Regions from separate parts of the Homo sapiens genome. Here all the other regions are linked to region 1. The links are contacts of gene promoters, found by promoter capture Hi-C in human tissues and cell types (Jung and others, 2019). All regions are on one chromosome and are shown on one strand. Each heading gives the region's core, a stretch centred on a gene start or on the middle of the fragment in contact. The rest is flanking DNA. Distances are from core to core; before and after follow the strand shown.

Region 1 (4,572 bases), core at 1,225-3,724:
TGCGGCTTGCAGTGATTCTCCCCACAACTGGTTTCCAACTCAGCCAGCCCCGCCCAGCTGTAATTACAGAGAGAGCTGAAGCTTCTGTGCCCAGCCATGACGTCAGCCCGAAGCTTCCAGCCTGATGAGCTCACCCTACATCCAGTGGGGGCCCAGTCACTCGGGACATGTCATGCCGTGGGGTCCCCACCATTCTTTCTCAGCTGGGGAGGAGGGCAGGGGTCTCTGTCTGTCGGTTAAGCACAGATCCGGGATTCAGAACAACCCAGGTTCCCACCCAGGCTCTGCCACTCCATATCTGTGTGCAAGGGTCAAACCTCTGTGCCTCTGTTTTTTCACCTGCAAAATGGGGGTGATGATAATAGTGACGTTTAACTATCGAGTCAGGATTTAACTCAGTAATGTCTGAAATGTACTAACTCTAAAAGCAGACGCACAGGAGGCAATGGGCGACAGTGATTGTTTTTCTCCGTATTATTATTTTTAGCAAACTGCCTCATGCACTCACTGTTTAATATCAAAACAATTTCTCAACCTATGACTCACTGAATTCCTTAATATCCTCAGTTTACCCTCATCTCGTGAAGAAGGCAGGGCTGAGACCCGAAAGCCCACACAGGGAAAACGACATGCCTAAAATTTTCTGCCTGTTGCGGACAGATCAAAGATTAGAACCCAAGCCGAAGAGGCCTCCAAGCCAAAGGAGGATTTGTAAATTCATTCTTCCAGCTGCATGGGAAGAGCAGGAAAGTCTAGATTTGGGGCTTTGAGTTTCAGACCAGACCTCCTGCCTGAGTGTAACATCTTTCAATAATTATCAGTATTAACAGTCATAATAATAATAGAAGCTACTATTCATGAACACTTCTATGGTAGTTTTCTCATCTGTAAAATGGGATAATACTGGTACTCTTACCTCACAGGATTGCTGGTGAGGGTTAAATGAATTCATATTTATAAAGCCCATAGAGCAGGGCCTGGCATATAGCAAACATTATGTAATTGATAACTCAAAATTGAAAATACAAGGAGAAAGAGAATTACCTCATGTATTCTTCATGGTACATCTGTGAGTTGGCTACTGTTATGTCCGTTTATAAGGAGGAAAACTAACAACCTGGAGGTGCCTGGGAATAATGTTACTGCCTATAAAGATGCTTTGATTGACCAAACATTAATCGGATTTCTGAATCTTCTCCTAAGCCCATCAGTGAGGTTCCTTATAAAAATTCAGTTTTGGGCCAGGCGAGGTGGCTCACGTCTGTAATCCCAGCACTTTGGGAGGTGGAGGCAGGTGGATCATGAGGTCAGGAGTTCAAGACCAGCCTGGCCAAGATGGTGAAATCCAACTCTACTAAAAAATACAAAAATTAGCCGGGCACGATGGCGGGTGCCTATAATCCCAGCTACTCGGGAGTCTGAGGCAGAAGAATCGCTTGAACCTGGAAGGCGGAGGTTGCAGTGAGCGGAGATGGCGCAACTGCGCTCTAGCCTGGGGGACAGAGTGAGACTCTGTCTCAAAAAAAAAAAAGAAAAGAAAGAAAGAAAAATTCAGTTTTGGCATGAACTCTGCTAAGTCTGTTTAGTAGCAACCACCCATCTTCGATTTCTGATCACCCTCGATATCTGATTAGTTTCCTCATCCTCCGCGGTCCCCCAGGTGATGTCTGAGCACCCTGGCCTGTCTTCAGCAAGAATCCTCTTAGGTTAGCTGAGCCCGAATCCCTCTGACTCCTGGACTTCCCTCCTAGTAAATTTCCATTCGCTGACCCCCCACCTGCTTCTTGGCTACAAATTCACACTTACCCATGACCTACTGGGAATCAAGTCTAATCTTTCTCCCTCACTGCAAAATCCCATTGCAGGGGTCCCTACATCTATGGAGAAAGTTTCCCTGCCCAGTAAAGTCTTGCTTGTCATACTTTAACAAGCGTCATATGAATATATATATACACATTAAAAAAATTTTTTTTTTCCTTTACCAATCTCCCCAGAGGGCATTGAGGCTCTAGGAGCTTGGCCATCTTGTAAGTGGGGATTGCAACCCAGGGCCATCCTTCAAATCCACTGGGCTCCTGTCTCTCTCTTCCCTTTCTGCAGGTCCCCAGGGGAAAGGCAGGATACGACACGCTCTAGGGAAGGTATTTCCAGAGGGTGACCTGAGCCCTCAGCCAGGCTCGGGGTTATTAATAGCCAGGCCTTAGTGCCCCGCTCGGGGAGGGCGGCTCCAGCTCCTGGAGCAAGAGGAGGGCGGAGCTGAGCGGAGTGGCCAGGGGAGGAGAGAGTGTCCGGAGAGGCCGGCTGAACTTGGACGCGGCCCCTCCCAGCTCCCCCCACAGCCCAGCTGTTCCCTCCGCGGATTCTCCGGGGCTGGTTCATCACCTCCGAATATTCCTGTGACAGGAGACGCTTGCAAAACCCGCCTCCAGCCTCCAGCAGCAAATAAATAGAAGGCTTGCAGCCCAGAAGGAGCCAGAAGAAGTTTCTAGGCGCGCGTGCCCTGGGTTTATTAAGCTCCTGGCTCCGCTCTAGACCTCAGCGGTTCTGGCTGCCAGCCTGGGCAGCCTGGGAAGCCTGGGAGGACGGTGGCTTGCCGGTCTGTCGTGAGGCAGTGCGGACGGGGACCCTCTGGGATTCTGCTGGATCTGCCCCGGGGGTTACCTTTGGGGGCTGGGACCCCAGTCGAGGGGACACAACCGTCCCTGGCAGTGGTTGGTTCTGCTTCTCCCTGCAGAAAAGCAGCATTTTCGGAAGCTGAAGAATAAGCTAGCCCAGCCACACCACCTTGTTGTGTGACCTTGGGCAGGTGGTTCTGTCTCTCTGAGCCTCTGTTTCTCTCTGAGCTGAGCAGCCACCATGGCTGACGGTCAGATGCCCTTCTCCTGCCACTACCCAAGCCGCCTGCGCCGAGACCCCTTCCGGGACTCTCCCCTCTCCTCTCGCCTGCTGGATGATGGCTTTGGCATGGACCCCTTCCCAGACGACTTGACAGCCTCTTGGCCCGACTGGGCTCTGCCTCGTCTCTCCTCCGCCTGGCCAGGCACCCTAAGGTCGGGCATGGTGCCCCGGGGCCCCACTGCCACCGCCAGGTTTGGGGTGCCTGCCGAGGGCAGGACCCCCCCACCCTTCCCTGGGGAGCCCTGGAAAGTGTGTGTGAATGTGCACAGCTTCAAGCCAGAGGAGTTGATGGTGAAGACCAAAGATGGATACGTGGAGGTGTCTGGTAAGTCAGGGGCAGGAGGGAGAGAGAATGGGGAGGCCGGGATGTAGCCCTCAGCCCTGGGAATAGCCAGAGAAAGTTTCCTGGGAGCTGACGTTGGGACAGTGTGACACAGGTGACCTCAGGGCTCAGGAATGCAGCCTGCAAAGTTATCTTTACGGAAAACTTCTCTCCCGGCTCCCAGCAGAGATCTTAACCTGCCTGACTCAGCTATTGGGGCCTCTGGGTGCTCATCAATCATGGTACAGACAGGAAAATAGAAACCATGTTGGATATTTTGACAGAGGGCATTTAATATAAAGAATAGGTTAAGCAGATATCAAAGAATTAAAAAACAAAGAAGAAACGGGATTTTGTGCACTCCAGCATCATAACAGAGTCTAGAAGTGCACGTTAAGGCTGAACAATGATAGTGTTAATAACCGCAACTGGTTTCCGGTGAAACACCTCTCCTTGTCCCAGACAGGGAAACTGAGGCTTACCAGTAATTGTAGTAACACTAACTGGTAACTCTGAGTGCTAACTATTCGCTCAGCACTTTGCTAACTGCTGTTGCCTATAATATCTCAGCTAATACCACAACCAGAGGAGGTGGGTACTGTTTATCTTCTTTTTTCAGATGAGGAAACTGAGGCACGGAGAGATTAAAGTAACTTGTTCAAGGCCACCAAGGAGTCAGACCCAGGTTGTCTGGGAATTAGGAGGCCAGAAAGAAGAAGTGATGATTTACTGAGCACCTACTAGGTGCCAAGGGTGGGCTGACATTCTTATACTTCTCCAAAATCATCCTCAGTCCACTCCAGGGTAGCAGGGTAGGCCCATCTTGCAGCTGAGGAGGCTGAGGCCTAGGTGGGACTCGTTCACAGTCATGCCATGAGTCAGCAATAGGAGTGGAGTAGGGACTGGGCCTATGCACAGCTTTAGGCCCAGGGCTCTCACTGCCGCATCCCACCCTGGGAGAAATAAACATACTAGGGGGAAAAATGAGAGAAGACAGGAAGCTCAGCCCCTGTGAAGCTGGGCAGTAGAAAAATCTTTCTTTTCCTTCCCTCCTGATTAACACTCCATTAAAAAGAATGTGTTCCCGGCAGAGGCTTGCCTTCCAGAAAATCAGTCAAAGCCATTGCAAACACAGGCTGGGCAGGAACAAGCCCCAGCAGCATTCAGGGGGAGTTTCAAGCCAGTCCTGGTAGAATTATAAACATCAGAGGCTCCAGCGGGTGTGGTGGGCTGGGAGACACGCTGGGGCCACGTGCTGATGACAGGGTCAGCCAGATTTCTGAGTTGGCTGGGGAGCAGGGCATGAGTTCCGAAACTGGCTCCAACTTTAACCAGCAGGATGTGCAAATTAC
Region 2 (4,572 bases), core at 1,361-3,860, 53 kb after region 1:
CTGAACATCCTAGCTTAGCCTAGCCTAAATTTAACGTGCTCAGAACATTTACTTAGCCTATAGTGGGGCAAAATCATCTAACACAAAGTCTATATTATAATAAAGGGTTGAATATCTGATGTATTTTATTGACTACTAATTATTACATCAAAATTATATACATGTATAAACATGTATACATATATAAACATGTATACCTATGTATATGTATATATGTTGGTAATATGTACTATGGAGAAAAACCAGGGGAAGGAAGTCAGAGAGTATCAGGGGTTGGAGTTGCCTTTTTAAATGGTTGGGGTCAGAGAAGGCCTGGATGAGAAGGTGGCATTTGAATAAAGACTTGAAGGAGGTGAGGAAATAATGGCTAACTGAGAAAGAGTGCTTCAGGAAGAAGGTTCAACAGTGCAAAAGCCCTGAGGTAGGTAGTTGCCTGACATGTTTGAAGAAGGCAAACAAGACAGTGTGGCTGGAGGGAATGAGCAAGGAGGTGAGTGGGAGGGGATGAGATTAGAACTGGGTGGTGGGTGGGGTCATGTGGGGCTTGATAAGCAGTTCCAAAGACATTGGCTTTTACTCCAAGAGAACACCAGAGGCCACTGGGGAGTTCTGAGGAGAGAATCACATTTTAGCAGCAGTATTGTTTTCAAAATACACTGATTAGACTGCAAGTTTGTCCAACCCGCAGCCCGTGGGCTACATGCAGCCCAGGACAGCTTTGAATGCAGCCCAACACAAATTCATAAACTTCCTTAAAACATTATGAGATTTTCTTTGGATTTCTTTTTCTTTCTTTTTTTTTTTTTTTTGCTCATCAGCTAGCGTTAGTATATTTTATAATGTGTGGCCCAAGACAATTCCTCTTCTTCCAATGTGGCTCAGGGAAGCCAAAAGTTTGGGCATTGCTGGATTAGAGCAAGGGTACAATTGACAGATTATTACAATAATCCACGTGAGAGACTAGGTCCAAGACCACAATAAAAACCACCAGTTTTCCAACAAATTCCATTCTCTCTTCCATAGCCGTAAGTGAACCGTTGCTGCTCAACAGGGGACTACATTTCCCAGCCTCCCCTGGGGCAAGGTCGAATCATGTGACTAAGTTCTAACCAATGAAATATAAACAAAAGAGACGTGTGCAACACTGCCTCACTTGCTTGAAAAAAATGGTGGGTCGTGTTCTTTTGCCCCCTGCTCGTTTATACAAAGGCACAGGAATGTGCCTGGATGCAGCTGAATCATGCCGATGAGAACAACTGAAGGAAGCTGCGTCCCTGTGTGAAGGTGTGGAGCAAAGTCTAATATACTCCTAGGCTGTTCACCTCAGGACCATCTCATGAATGAGAAATAAATATCTGTCTTCTGTAATCCACTGTATTTTGGCATTCTTTGTTACAGCAGCTTAACCTTTACCTCAACTAATACACAGAATTTTACGGAAGGTTTAGCAACATCAGAAGTGAATTACAGCACAGTGTAGAATAGGAAACAACCTACAATGTAATACTCATCGCCTCTATCCTTAAAGCTCCTTAACCAAACCCTGCAGGGAATTTTTCAGACAGTCTTTTACTTCTCTGATACATGTATTTCTCCAACTTCCCAGGGCCTGGGGACATCCGCAAAATTTTCTTTCATTTTATTAAGCAAATGAATATTTTGTGAATCTCTATCACAGACAAACTCCAGGAACTTCCTTTGCATTACTCAAAAGATTTGGTGGTGCACCTAACCCAGGTGAACATCTTGACACGAATAATTATTGAAAGTAATGGCAAAAACCTCAATTACATTTGTGCCACCTAATAGCAGAAACTTTGTTATCAACAGTTTTCCTCTCATTTGCTTTACAGTAAGCTTTTCAGCACTTCCTCCTCCCCTAAAAATACTCTCAAGAAGTAGAAGTGGAGAAGGAGGGGAAACATATTTTCCTCTAACCTGACCAAATCTTAGCGTTTGCTCCTGGGGTTTTAGATGATGCTTTCTCCCATTTACTCAGACCCAGATATTTATATGACAGGCACCCCTATATATGCATCCACATGGTTCCTTCTTATAGACACACACTCAGGCACACGCAGACACACAGACAGCTGAGTCATGCTGGAAGGTCCCTAGTTGTCCATTCTGTTCTTTTCTGCCTTCAAACCCCAGCCTTCAACAACACTTCCCAAGACCGCGGCTCTGTGTCCTTTCCACTGGTTGATTCTTTGGGTTTCTCACCAAAATTCACAGTGGGAACGTTATGCTGGCTCATTTCCTCCCTGCTTTTATGGTCTGTCCTATTCATTAGTAACACTATGAAGCGGCTTGTAAAATGCATCAGAAACAAGGTCTCCTCTGGAGGACCTAAGAAGCCAAGCCCAGGTGTGGCACAGTCAGGCTTTGCCCTCATGACAGAAGTGGTCATATTTCTCCCCTGAACAAGATGAGACATCTAATAGGGCTACTTACTCATGGGATAGCTGTGGCCGGCTGAGTGTTCACACCACCAAGGAAGTGCATGGGGACAAAGCTTCATGGGATCTTGGAGAATGTCCTCCAAGGCCCTGCTCAGGTGATCTGATCAGAATTAGCCCCTTCTGCTGCCTCCCTGGGGTGTGGAGGGAGTCAGGGAGAATCAGTGAGGAATTAATTATATGTGGTTTCTTGTGTCCCTGTATGGATAGATGTGTATGCATATTGTGTGTTGACTCGATGAATTGTTAAGTGCATACAAGTCTGGATTGTCTATATATGTTAATGTCAGGGCGTTGATCTCGTTCTCTGTGGGCATGTGTTCATATTTCATTGTTCCCTGCTTATTTCTCTAGCCCATCTCACACCATTCTGTCTTCTAAACATAGGCTCTTCTTAAATTCCTTACTTCTCTCCAATCACTCTGTCCCTCCCTCTGACACTGTCTTTGCATTTTTCTTCGACTCCGTTAGCTCCGTTCCTTTATCTCACCTGCCTCTCCCTCCTTCCTCCTCCCTCCTCCCCCTCCTTCTCCTTGTCATCTTCCTTCTTCTTCTCATTCTCCTCCTCCTTCTTCCTCCTTCTTTCTTCTTCTTCCTCCTCTCTATCCCTTTCCCTCCTCTCCATCCTCCTCATCTTCCTCCTTGTACTCCTTCTTCTTCCTCTTCCTCCCCCTTCTTCCTCTCCCCTCCCTGCCCTGTCACTTCCACACACTATTTTCTTTCCTCCTTCCACACTCACCTCACCTGACGAAGCCCCCCTTCACCACTCAGCATGGCCATCACTTCTTCTGGCCTGAGCCCCTAGATGGTAACTGTTCCTGCTGGGTAAGCACCCACCAGTGCCTCCCTTCCCCGTTTGGAACTCCCACCAACTGTACTGCCACTCCCTAGTTCACTGTGTCTTCCCTGGCCACAGTGGCCTTGCATTGTGTCATCTTAGTTAAATTGAAAGCATTTCCCCAAATTCCCTTTCCTGCAGTGTTCTGTGTTAAAGTGGGCCAACCAACTTGGGTGAGCCTTGGAAAGTGGGTGTGAAGCAGCAGTTGTGTTTATGCTCCAGGGGTCAATGTGAGCTGAGGCTCTGCTGCATCTCACACTCATTGTCATGGATTTGATGGCTCATCTTGTTGGGAGATTGCAGACAGCAGGCAGGGCTGGGGCTCCTCCACCTCCTGCCGATCTCCTCTTTTACTTTTTCTAACGTCTGTGCCAGATTTGGGTGCAGCTCCATGGTCCTTCCAAAGCTCACGGCATCACTCAGATTAGAAGTCTGGAGGCACTGAGAGACTGACAGTTCCCAGGGAGGGACAAAGGCAGCTTCCAGTTTTCCTTGGTGTGTTCCAGCTCATCCTCATGGGTTCCATGTTGTTCTTGCTCTCTCCCATTTCATGTCCGTAATCACTTACCAAGGCACAGCCCTGCTGAATGTAGGTTCAGCATCCAATGCTTACATAAGCAGCACCACCAACCGGCACAGTCACGTAAGGCCCAGCCCTATCATAAACCCCTTATATCACTCATACTGGTTCTGCTTCTTTGACCTGATAAACAGCCTAAAACCTCCCAGAGGACAGGATTTCAACTCAACTCGCAAATTAACATGATTGTTCACTGTTGAATTCCCAGAATTGAGAATGCACCCACCACTTGGAAATAGCCCCATAAGAATGCCCTACACTCAACCACAACATTGATGTACTCGCCTAGTGATCTATGCGCATGTGTGCACACCTAGGCATTTCTATAGTTCTTATGAGATCAGCTGTCACAAGAACTGGCAGTGGATCTCATATTGGCAGCCCTGGATCAAATATGTCCTACTTATAGGTTACCCTTGGTCCAGAGGGCTTTTAAATTTTTGAATTAGTTGTAACATTTAGAAGTCAAATTTCACATACAAAATCCAGGTTTTAAACTTTTCTTTACAAAATTGGGCCAGGTGCGGTGGCTCACACCCGTAGTTCCAGCACTTTGGGAGGCTGAGGTGGGTGGATCACTTGAGTCCAGGAGTTTGAGAGAAACTTGGGCAATATGGTGAGACCCTGTCTCTACAAAAGATACAAAAATTAACTGGGTGGGGTGGCACACGCCTGTAGTATGAGCTACTCAGGGG
Region 3 (4,572 bases), core at 719-3,218, 52 kb before region 1:
CCTGAAAGGTTTTTGACTCCATGCTAAGAACCTGGACTTAATTTTCCAGGTCTGAGGTTGTAAATTGGCAGCCCAAAGGCCTAATTTACTCTGCAAATGTGTTTCATTTGCCCAAAAAGGTGCCTTTAAAAAAAAATAAGCTTCCATTTAAAATAAGAACATTTTACCTAAAAATCTGTATTTCCACACTCACTTGAAAAATTAGAGGATCACCACACAAATATTCTGGAGGCAAAGCAGCACCTTCTGTTTTAACTCGGGCCTCCGGTTGATATTATGTTAGTGCTGGGCTGATCCACATATTTATGCTGCCTGAATGGCCCCTGAAGCTCTGTGACGTTGAGGCGCCTGCCTTGAGTGATGCAGAGGAGACATGGGGAAGTGACTTTCTGCCTAGGGTGTCATCTGGGGAGCAGGGAGGGCCCTGAGTCATCCACACTCCCTTCAGAGGACCCCTTTCTGCTCACCCGTATTCAGTACCATTGGTTACGGAACCCTCCACCCAATACCCAGGCAGGAAGCTGGACTAACGCATGGGGTTGAGGGAGATGGAGAACTTCGGGAGGGATGGTGACCAGTGCAAAGGAAAAACGGGTGTCACAAGATCAAATCTCTCACTCTCCCTTTTTTACTCTCTCTCTCCTCTCCTCTGACTCGTTCCTTCTCATCCCCCCAAGATCTCGAAGCCGGCCCCGAAAGTCTCACCGCCACCGCCATCACCGCTGCCCCTCGCGGTCCCAGAGCTCGGAGTCCCGCCCCTCAAGCTGTGAGAGCAGGTAACCCCTTGCCCCAGGATCCTCTTCTGTCAGCCACAGCCGAGCCCAGGCTAAGACACTGTTAACACTAGCTTCGCCTCCACACTTCCAGCACAGGGTTTGGCCCCCTTCCTCAGACTCAGCAGCTGGCACCACTTCCCTGTAGAGAAAGGGCTGGAGAGCCTGGGTGCGGTGGCTCACGCCTGTAATGCTAGCACTTTGGGAGGCCGAGGTGGCCAAATTATGAGATCAGGAGTTCAAGACCAGCCTGGCCAATATGGTGAAACCCTGTCTCTACTAAAAATACAAAAAATTAGCTGGGCGTAGTGGTGGGCACCTTTAATTCCAGCTACTCTGGAGGCTGAGACAGGAGAATCGCTTGAACCCAGGAGATGGTGGTTGTGGTGAGCCAAGATCACGCCATTGCACTCCAGCCTGGGTGACAGAACAAGACTCCATCTCAAAACAAAAACAAAAACAAAAACAAGAGAAAGGGCTGGAGACCAAAAGGTCTTGCTGCCATCACTTATAGGAATGACAACACCATACTAGCTGCTTTTTTTTTTTTTTTTTTTTTTTTTTTGAGACAGAGTCTCACCCTATAGCCCAGTCTGGAGTGCAGGGGGGCGATCTTGGCTCACTGCAACCTCCACCTCCTGGGTTCAAGCGATTCTCCTGCCTCAGCCTCCAGAGTAGCTGGGACTACAGGCGCCCGCCACCACACCTGGCTAATTTCTGTATCTGTAGTAGAGACAGGGTTTCACCGTGTTGGCCAGGCTAGTCTCAAACTCCTGACCTCAAGTGATCCAACCGTCTCGGCCTCCCAAAGTGTTAGAATTACAGGTGTGAGCCACCGCCCCCAGCTCTAGCTGCTCTTTGTACATCCACTTGCAGGATCCTCTCTACAACCGTAACAAGTGGGCATTATTGTTATCCCCATTTTAAATATGAGAAAACTGAGGCATGGGGGGGTTAAGGACTTTACTAGTCTCTTAGCAACTAAGTGACAGTTAGGATTGAAATCAGGGAACATGGCTCTAGACTTCACTAAGGGACCACTCTAAGCACAGAGAAGCTAAGCAAACTATGTAAACCCAAACAGTGCAAAGTAGAAAGTTCACTCTAATGCCTTTTCAACTCAGTTTTCTCCTAACCTGGACTCTCTCTATGCTAATACATTGGTTGTCCCAACCTGAGAAGGCATCTTGTTGATGAGAAGAAGGAGGAAGGGAAGGAGAAGAGCAAGAATAAGAACTGGAGCTTTAACTATAAATCATGCTGCTATAAAGACACATGCACACGTATGTTTATTGCGGCATTATTCACAATAGCAAAGACTTGGAACCAACCCAAATGTCCAACAATGATAGACTGGATTAAGAAAATGTGGCACATATACACCATGGAATACTATGCAGCCATAAAAAATGATGAGTTCATGTCCTTTGTAGGGACATGGATGAAATTGGAAATCATCATTCTCAGTAAACTATCGCAAGAACAAAAAACCAGACACCGCATATTCTCACTCATAGGTGGGAACTGAACAGTGAGAACACATGGACACAGGAAGGGGAACATCATACTCTGGGGACTGTTGTGGGGTTGGGGGACGGGGGAGGGATAGCATTGGGAGATATACCTAATGCTAGATGATGAGTTAGTGGGTGCAGCACACCAGCATGGCACATGTATACATATGTAACTAACCTGCACATTGTATACATGTACCCTAAAACTTAAAGTATAATAATAATAAATAAATTTAAAAAAAAGAACTGGGGCTTTATTGGTGTTTGGAATCGTTGATGTTCAATGGGGACACTGAGACCTCCAGCTTCCAGATGTGAGGAGCTGCTTTTTTCTTTCTGAAATGCATCTCACACTTGACTCTCCGTTCACATCACAAGGGTAGATTTTAAAATGTCATTGCCCTGGCCCCACTTTTCCCAAATAAAGCAGAATATCTATAGGAAAAGGGAGGAGGAGCCAGGTACAATGTCTCGCGCCTGTAATCCTAGCACTTTGGGGGGCCGAGGTGGGCAGATCACCTGAGGTCAGGAGTTAGTGATCACCCTGGCCAACATAGTGAAACCTTGTCTCTATTAAAAATACAAAAATTAGCCAGGTGTGGTGGTGGGCACCTGTAATCCCAGCTACTCGGGAGGCTGAGGCAGGAGAATCACTTGAACCCAGGAGACGGAGGTTGCAGTGAGCCAAGATTGCACCATTGCACTCCAGCCTGGGTGACAAAAGTGAAAGTCTGTCTCAAAAAAAAAAAAGAAAAGAAAAGAAAGGAAGAAAAAGGGAGAAGGAGAAGGTAGAAGGGGGAGAAGGAGAAAGAGGAGGCAGGAGAGGAATATTTACCCAAATCCTGCTCTGTGTCAGACACTGTGCTAAGATTTTCAATACATTTTCTCTCTCATCATTCTGATAATACTACGTGCTATGCTGGTGCTTGTCTACTTCGGCTGCCCTTTTCAATCACTTGGGAAGTTTTAAAAGATGCCAATGCCTGGATCCCACCCTCTCAACATTCTGATTTAATCCAGATGAGATGAGACCAGAACAGTGAGATTTTTAAATCCCCCCAGGTGATGTGTGGGAAGCATTTGAGGAAGAGGCCCTTGGTACCTACTATCACAATTAGGCCTTGGTGTTTCTGCTGAACATCAATAATTTCCAAGAATATCACCATCCAACAAGGCCACTCTGCAGCCCTGATTGCTCAAGACAAAACTAAGCCCCCTCTGTAATCAAGTCTGAGCCCAGATGAGAACACCGCAAAACACAAAAGTGACCAAGCATCTCTCTACCCTGCCTAATATGAGTGACTGCTGCTTCCTCGGCAGTCAGCCTTAGCCTCGGTCTAGTCCTCCCTCTTTCTAAATAAGACTGATGAAGACACCCAGTCAGAATTACCCCCACTTCCTGGCAGCATCCAATTCTGAACAAAGCTCCAGATCTGTAAATGCTCCCCAAACCACCTATCACCAGCCCAAAGCCTATAATAGGTTCTTTTTAACACCCCCTTACAGAGACGCCTGAAACTTCCCTATGGTATGAAGGAGTGACAACAATGTTTGTTCAACCCCAGGTGGACTCCTGGTGGCCTTTTTCTGGAGGACATTGGCCAAATGAGCTAAAACACATCTCTGATCTGTTACAGCAGAGACAACTGCCTTTTGGTGGGCAAAGGGATCTGAGCGAGGTCACATAGCTAGGAAGTGTCTGGCAGAGCTGGAATAGGCACCAGGTTAGTGTGACTCAGCCTGAGCACTTCACCTACACCCCAGGCTGAATTATCTCTCGGCAGCTAAGCCCTACTGGCCTGGGCCAGAGAATCATACAAGGCTTTAGCAACTTACCTGTTAAATAAATGGTTAACATCACAAACACTACCCCGGGCCTCCTCTGCTGTCCCATCTCCTCCTGATGGTGTTGGCATCTGAGCTCCCAGTGCCTACTGAGCTGAGGAGCTTCCTAGCAGAAATGGAAGCAAACTGAGAGCTGGCACGCAGGTTACACATTCAGTAGAAACATGATTTTCAAGCCACAGAGCAGTCAGGGGCACTCCAGGGCATGAATCCCAGGCGCTAGTTCCTAGAGGGGCAAAAAACTGCCCTGGCCCTTGCTCTGCCACTTTCAGGCTGTTTGACCTCAGGAAGATCCCTAAACATCTCTGAGCTTCGGCTCCCTCATCTGTAAAATGGGAAAGTAATACCTTGCCCTGTCTATGTCTTCAAGTTGTAGGGAAAACTGTGAAACTGCTTCGAGAGGTGTATACATACCTTGCAAATCCATAATGTGCTATTTT

Evidence for each region. Contacts are between HindIII fragments. The study calls those that stand out against the background at their distance.
Region 2: a contact is called between a fragment that was not itself captured here and the fragment with the promoter of HSPB8 in region 1, in 3 of the 25 tissues and cell types used here (H1 embryonic stem cells, bladder and hippocampus).
Region 3: a contact is called between a fragment that was not itself captured here and the fragment with the promoter of HSPB8 in region 1, in 1 of the 25 tissues and cell types used here (H1 embryonic stem cells).

The regions. Positions count from the first base shown.
Region 1 is chr12:119,176,457-119,181,028 of GRCh38, forward strand. HSPB8 (heat shock protein family B (small) member 8) reads left to right here and starts at 2,475. Exons shown (of 3, transcript NM_014365.3): 1 at 2,475-3,223. The coding sequence starts at 2,857. LOC105370024 (a long non-coding RNA gene) reads right to left here and starts at 28. Exons shown (of 2, transcript NR_134996.1): 1 at 1-28. RefSeq lists enhancers at 1-898, 2,078-2,827. The HindIII fragment of the contact is 13,927 bases long and covers 1-4,572 here.
Region 2 is chr12:119,228,913-119,233,484 of GRCh38, forward strand. The region is part of intron 2 of LOC105370025 (a long non-coding RNA gene); the gene reads right to left. Among named protein-coding and RNA genes, the nearest start is that of HSPB8-AS1, 47 kb to the left of the region's middle. The HindIII fragment of the contact is 3,853 bases long and covers 685-4,537 here.
Region 3 is chr12:119,124,704-119,129,275 of GRCh38, forward strand. It overlaps SRRM4 (serine/arginine repetitive matrix 4), which reads left to right. Exons shown (of 13, transcript NM_194286.4): 7 at 678-776. LOC105370021 (a long non-coding RNA gene) reads right to left here and starts at 267. Exons shown (of 3, transcript XR_945429.3): 1 at 194-267. The HindIII fragment of the contact is 6,642 bases long and covers 1-4,572 here.